Regions from separate parts of the Homo sapiens genome. Here all the other regions are linked to region 3. Evidence: promoter capture Hi-C in human tissues and cell types (Jung and others, 2019). All regions are on one chromosome and are shown on one strand. Each heading gives the region's core, a stretch centred on a gene start or on the middle of the fragment in contact. The rest is flanking DNA. Distances are from core to core; before and after follow the strand shown.

Region 1 (3,745 bases), core at 419-2,918, 130 kb before region 3:
CGGAGTCTCGCTCTGTCGCCCAGGCTGGACTGCAGTGGCGCAATCTCGGCTCACTGCAAGCTTCGCCTCCCAGGTTCACGCCATTCTCCTGTCTCAGCCTCCCGAGTAGCTGGGACTACATGCGCCTGCCACCAGGCCCGGCTAATTTTCTGTATTTTTAATAGAGATGGGGTTTCACCATGTTAGCCAGGATGGTCTTGAACTCCTGACCTTGTGATCTGCCCGCCTCAGCCTCCCAAAGTGCTGGGATTACAGGCATGAGCCACTGTGCCCAGCCTAAGTTTTTTTTTTAATGAGAAAATAATTACTGGAAGGTAGATTAAATGGTGGAAAACGTTAATCATGTCCAACTCCTCATTTCATAAACAGGGAAGCTGAGGTTTAAAGAAGGAAGTGGCTTGCTGGTCACACTGGGTGGCATAGCTGGCCCTAAAACCCAAATTCTTTTCCTGGAACAACTTACTTCCCGTCTTTCCACTTCAGAGAGGGGGAACCTAGGATCAATGAAGTTGATGGGTTTTCGTCTGCTGGAGTAGGAATAAGTGAGTTATCGATTTGCTCTTGCTTTTTCTGTTCTTAACTCATTCAGCAAATATTTACTGACTGTCCACTATTCGGATTTGGAAGATAGATAAAACAGTCATGGCAGCAGAGAGGGTCAGGATTTACTCCTATGTGCGACTTCAGAACCTGTGCCTTTTTCCACTGGACACCCACATTTTAAAACACCCACTACTCTGCCTTCTAATATAGTTCATCTGTGTCTCAGGGCAGGGGCTGTCTTATATATACATGTTCTAGCCTTCCTGCCACCGAGTAGGTGCGAAATCAATGTTGTAGTGTTGAGGAAACACTTGAATTTTATTTATTTATTTATTTATTTATTTATTTATTTAGAGACGGAGTTTTGCTCTTGTTGCCCAGGCTGGAGTGCAATGGCGTGATCTCGGCTCACTGCAACCTCTGCCTCCCGGGTTCAAGCAATTCTCCTGGCTCAGCCTCCCGAGTAGCTAGGACTACAGGCGTGCGCCACCACGCCCCGCTAATTTTGTATTTTTAGCAGAGACGGGGTTTCTCCATGTTGGTCAGGCTGGTCTCGAAACACCGACCTCAGGTAATCCGCCCACCTCAGCCTCCCAAAGTGCTGGGATTACAGGCGTGAGCCACCGCGCCCGACCAACACTTGAATTTTAATACTTACTTTGCTACTAACTGTGTCGTTGAAACAGTATGTTGCTTTCCTTCTCTGGCCCTTAGCTTAACTATCTGTACAGCGGGAACATTGGCAAACTCCTACGTGGAGGAGCTTGCAGGTCCACTTCAAGTTATCAGACTCTAACTAGGAGAAAACATTGAGAATTTAGGCTGAAAATAACGACACAGTTTATCACCTCGTTAATTCCCAAACATCATTACCGCGTCCTAAGCCACCCCACTTGCCTCTCCCCTAGCCGCCTTCCTTTAAAAAAAGAATTCCCCTCTAGAGGGCGCGCAAGCTCTGCGGCCTTCGTTCCTCTCTTCCGTTTGCCTTCACTCTTCCTTCTGCGCATGTGCTCAGTTCGCTATCCGGCTGCTTGTACCTGGTTCAGGAGGTTCAGGCAGAGGTTGCACCCACTACGCCTGCGCAACCTCAGCCCCGCCCCTCCGCTGCTTTCCCCGGAAACGTTTCTTTCCTACGCAGCCGCTCCTGCCGCCGTGGTCGCTGGAGCTTTGCCTCTCTAGGCCGGCAGCGCCTCTCCTCCATGGTCCTGTCTGTCAGCGCTGTTTTGGGAGCCCGCCGGTGAGGCCGGGCCACGCTCAGACACTTCGATCGTCGAGTCTGTCACTGGTGAGTAGACCCCAGAGGAGCTCGTGTACGGGCGGGGGCCGCGCAGGCGGAATGGGCTGGATTTCCCCTCACTCTGAGAATGGGTCTGTCTGCCCCGCCTTCCCCCTGACTCTTGGAATGGGCTCACCCCTTGGTTCCAGTCCCTCCTCCCGGGCGGGGCGACGTTGCCATGGAGACAGGCCGCTGGCTGAGGCCCGGCTCGTGTCCCTGCAGGGCATGGCGGGTCAGTTCCGCAGCTACGTGTGGGACCCGCTGCTGATCCTGTCGCAGATCGTCCTCATGCAGACCGTGTATTACGGCTCGCTGGGCCTGTGGCTGGCGCTGGTGGACGGGCTAGTGCGAAGCAGCCCCTCGCTGGACCAGATGTTCGACGCCGAGGTAGGGTCCCCGGACTGGGGCGGGTGGGGTCTCGGCCTCCCCGAGTAGGCTTTGTGGTCCATCACTACTGTGCTGTAGACGTGGCTGGGTCACCTTCTTTCTTTGTAGCCCTGGGAAAGGGATTTCACCTTTCTGAGCCTCAGCTGCCTCATCCATAAAATGGAATGACAGCAGAGGCTGATTAGTACAAAGAAAAGGGCCTGGATGTTAATACAATAAACACGTCTGTGTTCCAGGCAACTCTGATACATTTCCTTTCTGATACTCTGGGAAAGTGACTTGATTTCTCTGAGCTAGGTTCTCAGGTGCCACATCGGAGAGAGGGGTGGATAAAAGAGCATTCGTGCGGGTACAGTGGAAACTGCCTGGACTTTGGGGTCAGACAGGCGTCCGTTTAAGATCCACTTACTAGCTGTGTGACCTGGGGCAAATGTCACCTCTGTGAACTTGTTTTCCTGTCTTCAAAACCATGAGACTAGTTGCAGAGAGGTCGTGGACTGCAATATAAAGAGCATGTGCTTTGGGTTCAGAAAAGCAAGGGTTCAGTCTAGGCCTAAACATATAAAACTAGCTGTGGGACCTTGGGCAAGTTGCTTCCCCTTTCTGAGCCTTTTCTGAAAAGTGGGCCGGATGCTCCTACCATGTTGCCCTCAACAAAATGTTACAAGGCCCAGAGGGGTTTAGGAATAAGAAGGTACTTTGTAAAGTGTAAAGGAGGCCTATAAGTTGTTACATCTAAGAGGCAGCTGTGGCGTGGTGATGAGCACAGTTCTTTTTTTTTTTTTTTTTTTTTTTTGAGACGGAGTCTCCCTCTGTCGCCCAGGCTGGAGTGCAGTGGCAGGATCTCGGCTCACTGCAAGCTCCGCCTCCCGGGTTCACGCCATTCTCCTGCCTCAGCCTCCCAAGTAGCTGGGACTACAGGCGCCCGCCACTACGCCCGGCTAATTTTTTGTATTTTTAGTAGAGACGGGGTTTCACCGTTTTAGCCGGGATGGTCTCGATCTCCTGACCTCGTGATCCGCCTGCCTCGGCCTCCCAAAGTGCTGGGATTACAGGCGTGAGCCACCGCGCCCGGCCGAGCACAGTTCTTAAAGCCAGGAGACCTGGGATGGAGTCCTTGCTCCTGCTGCTTGTTCTCTGTGTTAGCCCTTGGGCAAGTTATTATCCAAAAAGTGATAAGAATTAAAAGAAGAAGAATGGCTTTGTGAGGTTTTTTTAGGGATAATATGAGATTATGTATGTCAAAGACCTTTCTTTGTCAGCTGAAAGTGTGGTGCAGATGTTTGGCATTTGATAGTATTGTGTTGGATAGTGGAGGTTGCACACCCACCATATGCCTAGTTGTAGTCTCGTAGGAGACTCTATGCTCCTGGGAAGAGCTGTGGGAATGCCAGGCTTTGTTGAAGAGCCATATGATGCACACAACCTGAGTTCTAGCCTAGGGATCAGCAAACCTTTCCTTTAAGGGTGAAGTAGTAAGGATTTTAGGTCACAATTATTCAGCTCTGCCATTGTAGCACAGAAGGCTGCTATAGACAA
Region 2 (4,215 bases), core at 1,340-3,839, 230 kb after region 3:
AAGATTTCATGATGAAAACACCAAAGCAATTGCAACAAAAGCAAAAATTGACAAATGGGATCTAATTAAACTAAAGAGCTTCTGCACAGCAAAAGAAACTATCATCAGAGTGAACAGACAACCTACAGAAATGGAGTATATTTTTGCAATCTATCCGTCTGACAAAGTTCTAGTATCCAGAGTCTACAAGAAACTTAAACAAATTTATAAGAAAAAAACAAACAATCCCATTAAAAAGTGGGCAAAGGACTTGAACAGGCACTTCTCAAAAGAAGACATATATGTGGCCAACAAACATATGAAACAAGGCTCAACATCGCTGATCATTAGAGAAACGAAAATCAAAACCACAATGAGATACCATCTCATACCAGTCAGAATGGTGATTATTAAAAAGTAAAAAAAAAAACAAAAAACACAGATGCTGGAGAGGTTGTAGAGAAAAAGGAACACTTTTACACTGTTAGTGGGCGTGTAAATTAGTTCAACTATTGTGGAAAACAGTGTGGAGATTCCTCAAAGATCTAGAGGCAGAAATACCATCTGACCCAATAATCCCATTACTGGGTATATACCCAAAGGAACATAAATCATTCTATTATAAAGACACATGCATGCATATGTTCATTGCAGCACTATTCACAATAGCAAAGACATGAATCAATCCAAATGCCCATCAATGATAGACTGGATAAAGAAAATGTGATACTGAAATATATATATATACACACACACACCATGGAATTCTATGCAGCCATAAAAAGAAATGAGATCATGTCCTTTGCAGGGATATGGATGGAGCTCGAAGCAGTTATCCTCAGCAAACTAACACAGGAGCAGAAAACCAAACACTGCATGTTCTCACTTACAAGTGGTAGCTGAATGATGAGAACACATGGACACATAAGTGGAACAACACACACTGGAGCATATCATGGGGGTGGTAGGGAGAGGGAGAACATCAAGAAGAATACCTGGTGAATGCTGGGCTTAATACCTAGGTGTAGGGATGATCTGTGCAGCAAATCACCATGGCACACATGGTTTATGTATGTAACAAACCTGCACATCCTGCACATGTACCGCTGAAATTAAAATAAAAGTTGAAGATTTTTTTAAAAGATAGCATTTACAATAATATTAAAAATATAAATAAGATTGTAACACCTGCATGAGAAATGTCATAAACCTTTCTTTAAAATATTAATGAAGGTCAAAATAGATGGAAATATATATATCAAAGACAATATTATAAGGATATCATTCTTTTCCAATTGATTTGTAGATCCAGTGCAATTCAAATGAATATCCAAAATAGGTGTTTTGTTTTTGTTTTTGTTTTTGTTTTCGTTTTCGGTCAGAGTCTTGCTCTGTCACCCAGGCTGGAGTGCAATGGCACAGTCTCAGCTCACTACAACCTCTGCCTCCCAGTTCAAGCAATTCTCATGCCGCAGCCTCCCAAGTAGCTGAGATTACAGGAACTCACCACCATAACCAGCTAATTTTTGTATTTTTAGTAGAGACGGGGTTTTGCCATGTTGACCAGGCTGGTCTCCAACTCCTGACCTCATGGGATTCACCCACCTCAGCCTCCCAAAGTGCTGGGATTACAGGCATGAGCCACCACGCCTGGCCCGAAACAGGTCTTTTGAATAACTTGATAAACTGACTAAAATTTATATGAAAATACAAAATCCTAAGATAAACAAAGTTCAAGAGATTAAGTGTGGCTTTGGAGTGGGGGTATACAGTGGAGTGAAATAAAGGGCTCAGAAGCAATCCCACATAATTAAGCAAAATTATTTTGCAGTTAAATAGAAGAGGAACTCATTAATAAATAGGTCTGGAACCACTGAAAAATGAAAAAGGATCCTTATGTTATACCTTACCAAAAAATCAACATCAGGTGGTTTTAGGGTGTAAAGGTAAGCCAAAACTTCAAAACTTTTAGGAGAAAACAGATCCAAGATGTCCTCATGTTCCTAGATAACATAGTGTAGTGTGACTAAGAACAAAAACTCTGAAGCCAAGTTCAAATCTTGTCTCTACCACATAATAAATGAGTGACCTTGTACATGTAACCTAATCTCTGTCTCCATTTCATCCTTAAATGATGGTAATAACTGTACTTACTTCATAGGGTGTATATGATGATAAAGTATATACAAATTACTTAAAAATAGCACCTGGAATTAAGTAGTACTCTAGGTTATAACTAACCCTGTTACTATTATTATAGTGCTATTGCACTCTTTCTCTTGTGCCATGATTAGTTTCTTCTGTGCATAAAAGGTCAAAAAGAGAAAGGAAGAAATCCCTTTTTAATTCCTCACTCTGATGATTCTACCCTTCATGATTAAATATATGCAGAAGCTCTGATCCTTAAGTTTCTATTGCTTCTAGATGAACATGGGACTCACTATCAAGGGTCTAATCAGTTTGGGGCCTTCAGCTTCATGGCTGGGTACCCAAGCACTCACTGTTCAACTCAACACCTAGTAATGTCCAGTCCTGGCCCTTGGGGTAGGTGAGCTCAACCGTCTCAAGTATCAAGCCCAAAATATAACATCAGGTGATACCACAACTATCCTGCCTGCTGCTTGCTGCACCATGAAGTCTGCCAAGCTGGGATTTCTTCTAAGATTCTTCATCTTCTGCTCATTGAATACCCTGTTATTGGGTGGTGTTAATAAAATTGCGGAGAAGATATGTGGAGACCTCAAAGGTATGAAGCTAAGGCAGAAAATAAATCCAAAGGTCAATTATGAATGAGAGAGAAGGTATTGGGAGAAAAGTGTGTTATCTAGGTAGTCCAGGAAGGTCTTCCTTTCATGACAATACCCATAGACACTTAGTCCCTTGACTCAGGGCATTACTTACACTAGGGGTCCTCTGGATGTTTGATGAGAAAAAACAGAAATGACACAAAGTCCTTTCCAGATGGAGACCTCTTTTATAGGAGGTCCAAAGGACTGGAAGTATTTTGAATCAGAGGTTGTGTGACAAATTTCAAAGATCCCAGACCATTGATGATTATGTATTGGGATGAGAGAGAAAGGGGGTTGGAGACAGAGCAAATTAAGACATTTTCAGTATCTGGGCTATGGACATATACAGAACTCTTGGACAGATGATTCCTGTTTAGAGGAGCTCACAATGTAAATGTGAGAGGCAATGAGACTTTCTTCCATAGATAGTGTGTGAAGGCTCAGCGCTTCCAGGGGACGAGAAAGTAGCACAGTTTATACCGTAAGTCAGACACTTCAAGTTCTGGACCTGTTCACTTAGCAGATATGTGCCCTTGGACAAGTCACTCAACCACTTATTATTCTCTTAGTCTCAGTTTCCCCATGTGTAAAATGAAGATCAGAAAAGTGCCTGCTGCAGAGGGTGTTTGTGAGTATGAAATAAGATTATGCACATAACTTTACCAGAGAGTAAATTCCAGGCTGGCTGCTTGAGTAAGGTGGATTGTCAATACAACCATGATTGTGGCTGTTCCAACCACTTACTACCCAACTCTTAACAATAAAAACAGAGGGTTTGCCTCTGAGAAGGCAAGAAAGGAGAAGATGACGGGGTATGAGGATGAACGAGCATCACCCCAAGGTTATGCATTTTAGCATTTTAGTATGCATCCTGCTTTAAAGATAGCAGCAGCCATGGTTACTTAAATTTTGAAGTATAGGTAGTATAGTGAATGTATGAAACTGGGGAGGAGGCACTCTGAATTGCATGTCCTATGTGGGCAATTAAAAGGAAAGGAAGATGATGTGGGGAAGCAGGAGGATACTGTACTTTAATAAACTGTAAGATAGGAAATGTAGGGAAGCTCATCGCCCTGCACAAGCTAGTGGTGGAACCTCCTTTTTCACTGATCACTACTTCTCCTTCTCCAATACACTGCTCACGACAACAACCTGGAATTTTAACCAATTTGCATTGTGCAAGGGCAACATTTCCAAGCAACTCTAACTCCAAGAGAAAACCACATCTTTCAGAGTCCTTGAATATGAGAATAGTTCCAGGCTAAACGTAGGAATTTTTAAGGGCCCATAAAGACAAGTTCTCCTGCTGAGTCCTTACCAATTCCCACTAACTCAATGGGAACCTCTCATGCAGATCCCTGCAAATTGGACATGAATTTTGGAAGCTGCTATGAAGTTCACTTTAGATATTTCTACAACAGAACCTCCAAAAGATGTGAAACTTTTG
Region 3 (3,883 bases), core at 1,249-3,748:
TTCTTTGGGTCAGAAGTCTCTTCAGTATAGTCGCTTCATGGTGGCCAGGAAGATGTTACCAGAAAGGAGTCCGGATCCAGACCCCAAGAGAGGGTTCTCAGATCTCACACAAGAAAGAAATCAAAGCAAGTCCGTAGAGTAAAGTGAGAAAGCAAGTTTATTAAGAAAGTAAAGGAAAGGGAAAAAGAGTGGCTACTCCATGGGCAGAGCAGCCCCAAGGGTTGCTGGTTCAAGATTTTTATGGTTATTTCTTGATTATATGCTAAAACGGGTGGATTATTCATGAGTTTTCATGGAGAGGGGAAGAGATTTCCCAGAACTGAGGATCCCTCCCCTTTTTAGTCTATATAGGATAACTTCTGAGTGTTGCCATGGTGTTTGTAAATTGTCATGGCACTGATAGGAGTGTCTTTTAGCATGCTAATGCATTATGATTAGCATAGAATAAGCATTGAGGATGACCAGAGGTCACTTTCATTGCCATCTTGGTTTCAGTGGGTTTCGGCTGGGTTCTTTACCACATCCTGATTTATTAGCAGGGTCTGTGACCTGTATCTTGTGCCAACCTCCTATCTCATCCTGTGACTAAGAATGCCTAACCCTCTGGGAATGTAGCCAAGCAGGTCTCACCCTTATTTTATCCAGCCCCTATTCAAGATGGAGTCACTCTGGTTGGAAGGCCTCTGACACAATGATTTCTTACTTTAATCCTGGGGTGTATGCTTATCCTTTGGGGTGAGGGAGAAGGAGAATAAGGGAGTAATGTCAGTGACTCTGGCCCCCCAGGAACAGCCTTCATGTCCTTCCCTTCTCTACCCACCGTGGAACATGAGAGATCTGGAAAGTTTCAGTGACATTGTCTGGAATATCTGGCCAGCCTGGCTTGGTGTCTATCAGGCTTTATCTTCCTCATCTTCTTGTGGGACCAGGGACCAGGGACCAGACAAGGCCCCAGGGCATCTCCATTCACTCCCAGGGGCACAAACTGATAGAGCCTCCTGGTGGGAGTGGGGATGCTTTGTGCATATGATAGCCCCTTGGCCAGAGATGGCAGTGTAGATTTTCCCAGCTCCCCACTTTCTGATTTCTATTTTTGTCCATGCTCGGGGCTCCCCAACCTTTTAGGCAGAAACAGAGGCATCCAGTGATGGGTTGGGAAGAGTTGCTGGGAACTCGGTGTGTGACTACCACTAGCTCCACTTTCTCCTGTCCTTCTACAGGTTTGCATTCTGAAAGAGTGGCCCAGGCAGGGTGATGTCTAACCCAGGGATGGCAAAGGTGTCCACATGCCATCATTTCTTCCACCAGCACCCATATCACATGATTGCTGCTCCTTTCCATTAGCCCATGTGTGGCCACAGAGCCCTCAGCACAGGGCTCCAGGCAGCTGCTACAGCTGCCCATTGATTGGGGTTGATAGATAGATTTGCTACCCCTGATTTAACTCAAGAAATAAAATGCTAATGGTGAAAAGTCAGACCTGGCAGTTGAGGTTTTACTGAGTAAGAAGACTGCACAGGGGACCCTGAGCAGGGGTCCAAAGGAGATGGGACCTCAGGCCCTCCACCAGAAGCTTAAGAGGGGGTAAAGCTTTTTCAAGGGGTCCCTAGCCCAGAGGCCTCCTGCAGAAGATGAGGTGGAAGTTGCCAGGGATCTCAGTAATGCACAGGAAGAAGCTACCAGGGAAGGAGGACTGAGAGGTGGGATGGGGCAGGTAAGAAAGCAGGGGTGGGTTAGACGAGGCAGAACCTCTGGCTGAGACCCTTCCTTTAATTTTCTTTTTTAAGCTGCTTGGTCAATAAGTTTATTGTTTTTATCTGAATAATCTTATAGAAAATGACTATTTGCCAGACGTGGTGGAACGTGCCTATATTCCTAAGTACTTGGAAGGCCAAGTGGGGGAGGATTGCTTGAGCCCAGGAGTTGGAGGCTACAGTGAGCTATGATTGTGCCACTGCACTCTGACTTGGGTGACAGAGCGAGACTCTGTCTCTGAAAAAAAAAAAGAAAAAGGAAAAAGAAAAGACAAGAAAATAGTTGTTTGGCTTAGCGCTCAGCAGCCTGCTCCTGAGCTCTTAGAAAACTTGCCTTCTGAGCTACTCAGTCTTTCTTCTGGACAGGGGACGTCTTGGGATGGTTCCACCTTTTCTTAACTTCTTCCCCAGGCTTCCTCTCGTGAACTGGATTCTCTTGTTCAGCATCATGAGCTTTCTTACATGTCTCTCCGTCATGACTGGAGTTATGTTGTTCTTTATGTATTGAGAAAATTGTTTCTTGTAAACATCTTCATCTTCTTACATTGGGTAATGCATATAATCTGCGATCTTCTGACCCAGGATGTGCTTCTGCATTGAACTCCCTGCTTTCTGAATTGGAACCAGGGAATTGTTTGGTAACTGTGAGGGATAGAAAACCTCAATCCACACCTCCCTTCAGGGCCCCCCTACCTTTATTTCCGTTGGTAGTTCTGGCAAGTAGCAAGTGAAGGCACCAAGTAACCATCAATGCTTCCCATGTGATACCCATCTCTGCTCACCTCCACTTGACCTTCATAGGTGTTGTCCATGCCAAGACTATTGAGGGGCCTTCGGGTCAGCACAGGCCAGTACAATGTGCTGCATCATAATCTGGCTGGCCAACCTTCATGCTACACTTTAGACATTCATGAACATATGCTGTGCAGACAATCATATTCCCTTCTGTGTGGGCAAAAACCATATGACAAATGATCTCTCTGTTAGTTGCATGAACTATCCTGAATTTTGGTGTGTTCTACTTATTTTCATCCTGGATTACCAAGTGTGTCTGAGCATAGTAATCAGTTTAACCCACTGGTCTTCTAAATGTCATCTGTATCTCTTAAAGTAGGCCTTACTCTTAACAATTTTAACACACTCCATCCTCCGGAACAGAGAGCTGTGTCCATGGCTTGACACAGACCTGCAGCGTGCAAGGGGGGCCAGGCAAGGCGGAAGCCCTACGATCATTCTTTGATCAACTTTTGCAGCCAAGTGAATGCTGTAGGTTGGGGACTCTGAAGATTTGTGATTGGAAAGGGGGAAGGAAAAAGGACAGGGTCCCAGACTGGTCTCTTCCCCCTCTTCCAGGCCTTGATGGGCCACACTTGATATAGGCAGACCACAGCAAAGCTTAGTTTTGGCCAGGAGAACAGCTCCCAGGGCCCAGGAATCCCAGTAAACAGGTGGATCGAGATGGGACAGCCAACCTCAAGGCCCCTCACAGAACCACTCAGCCCAGCTGCCCCTCCAGACGTCAGGGCAGGGCTTCTTCCCGCACTTATTTTCTCCCATTTCCGATGGCAAACTGCTTTGCAGATGCCTCTAAAGGCCATCCCCAGCCCAGGAAGCCATGTATGGTAATACCTACATGGAAACAGACATCTTCTCTGCAGGAAAGTGCAGGTTTGGGGTTGGAGCGATAGTAAGAAGTTACATGAGTGAGCTGGAGCTTAGAAAATAAAGTTCTAAAGACAGACCAGTCAGGGAGGGGAAGGTCCTGCCCCAGAAACAACATCAGCAGAGGCATTCACTCATTCAATATTTATAAAGCACTTACTATGTGTTCTATTCTAGGTGGTGGGGATTTGATAGAAGGAAAAGAGTGTGTGTGTGTGTGTGTGTGTGTGTGTGTGTGCGGTGGAGAGGATAGCCAATAAATAAATGAACTAACACATATATAACATGTTAGGTGGAGGAAAAGTTATGGAGAAATACACAGGTAAGAGGAATAGTGAGTCTGGGGGTGGGGTAGAGATGGGGGTGATTACTTTGCAAAGTAGTCAGGGAAGGTCTTAAAGTATTATTCAAGTAGTGAACTCAGTGAAGGAGGACATGAGCTGCGTGACAACCCATGAGAAGAGGAA

Evidence for each region. The method cuts DNA at HindIII sites, captures the fragments that hold promoters and counts their contacts. A contact is called where the count stands out against the background at its distance.
Region 1: a contact is called between the fragment with the promoter of SYS1 here and a fragment that was not itself captured in region 3, in 3 of the 25 tissues and cell types used here (aorta, pancreas and thymus).
Region 2: the fragment with the promoter of SPINT4 here is called in contact with a fragment that was not itself captured in region 3 in 1 of the 25 tissues and cell types used here (liver).

What each region holds. Positions count from the first base shown.
Region 1 is chr20:45,361,488-45,365,232 of GRCh38, forward strand. SYS1 (SYS1 golgi trafficking protein) reads left to right here and starts at 1,669. Exons shown (of 4, transcript NM_033542.4): 1 at 1,669-1,828; 2 at 2,042-2,206. The coding sequence starts at 2,045. SYS1-DBNDD2 (SYS1-DBNDD2 readthrough (NMD candidate)) reads left to right here and starts at 1,682. Exons shown (of 6, transcript NR_003189.2): 1 at 1,682-1,828; 2 at 2,042-2,206. It overlaps LOC124904914 (a long non-coding RNA gene), which reads right to left and starts at 1,881. Exons shown (of 2, transcript XR_007067609.1): 1 at 1,581-1,881; 2 at 869-1,339. RefSeq lists an enhancer at 1,399-1,838. The HindIII fragment of the contact is 13,954 bases long and covers 1-3,745 here.
Region 2 is chr20:45,719,758-45,723,972 of GRCh38, forward strand. SPINT4 (serine peptidase inhibitor, Kunitz type 4) reads left to right here and starts at 2,590. Exons shown (of 3, transcript NM_178455.3): 1 at 2,590-2,725; 2 at 4,123-4,215. The coding sequence starts at 2,611. The HindIII fragment of the contact is 7,531 bases long and covers 1-4,215 here.
Region 3 is chr20:45,488,772-45,492,654 of GRCh38, forward strand. All of the region lies in intron 1 of LOC107987282 (a long non-coding RNA gene), which reads left to right. It also overlaps the pseudogene RPL5P2. Among named protein-coding and RNA genes, the nearest start is that of WFDC2, 21 kb to the left of the region's middle. The HindIII fragment of the contact is 6,084 bases long and covers 1-3,883 here.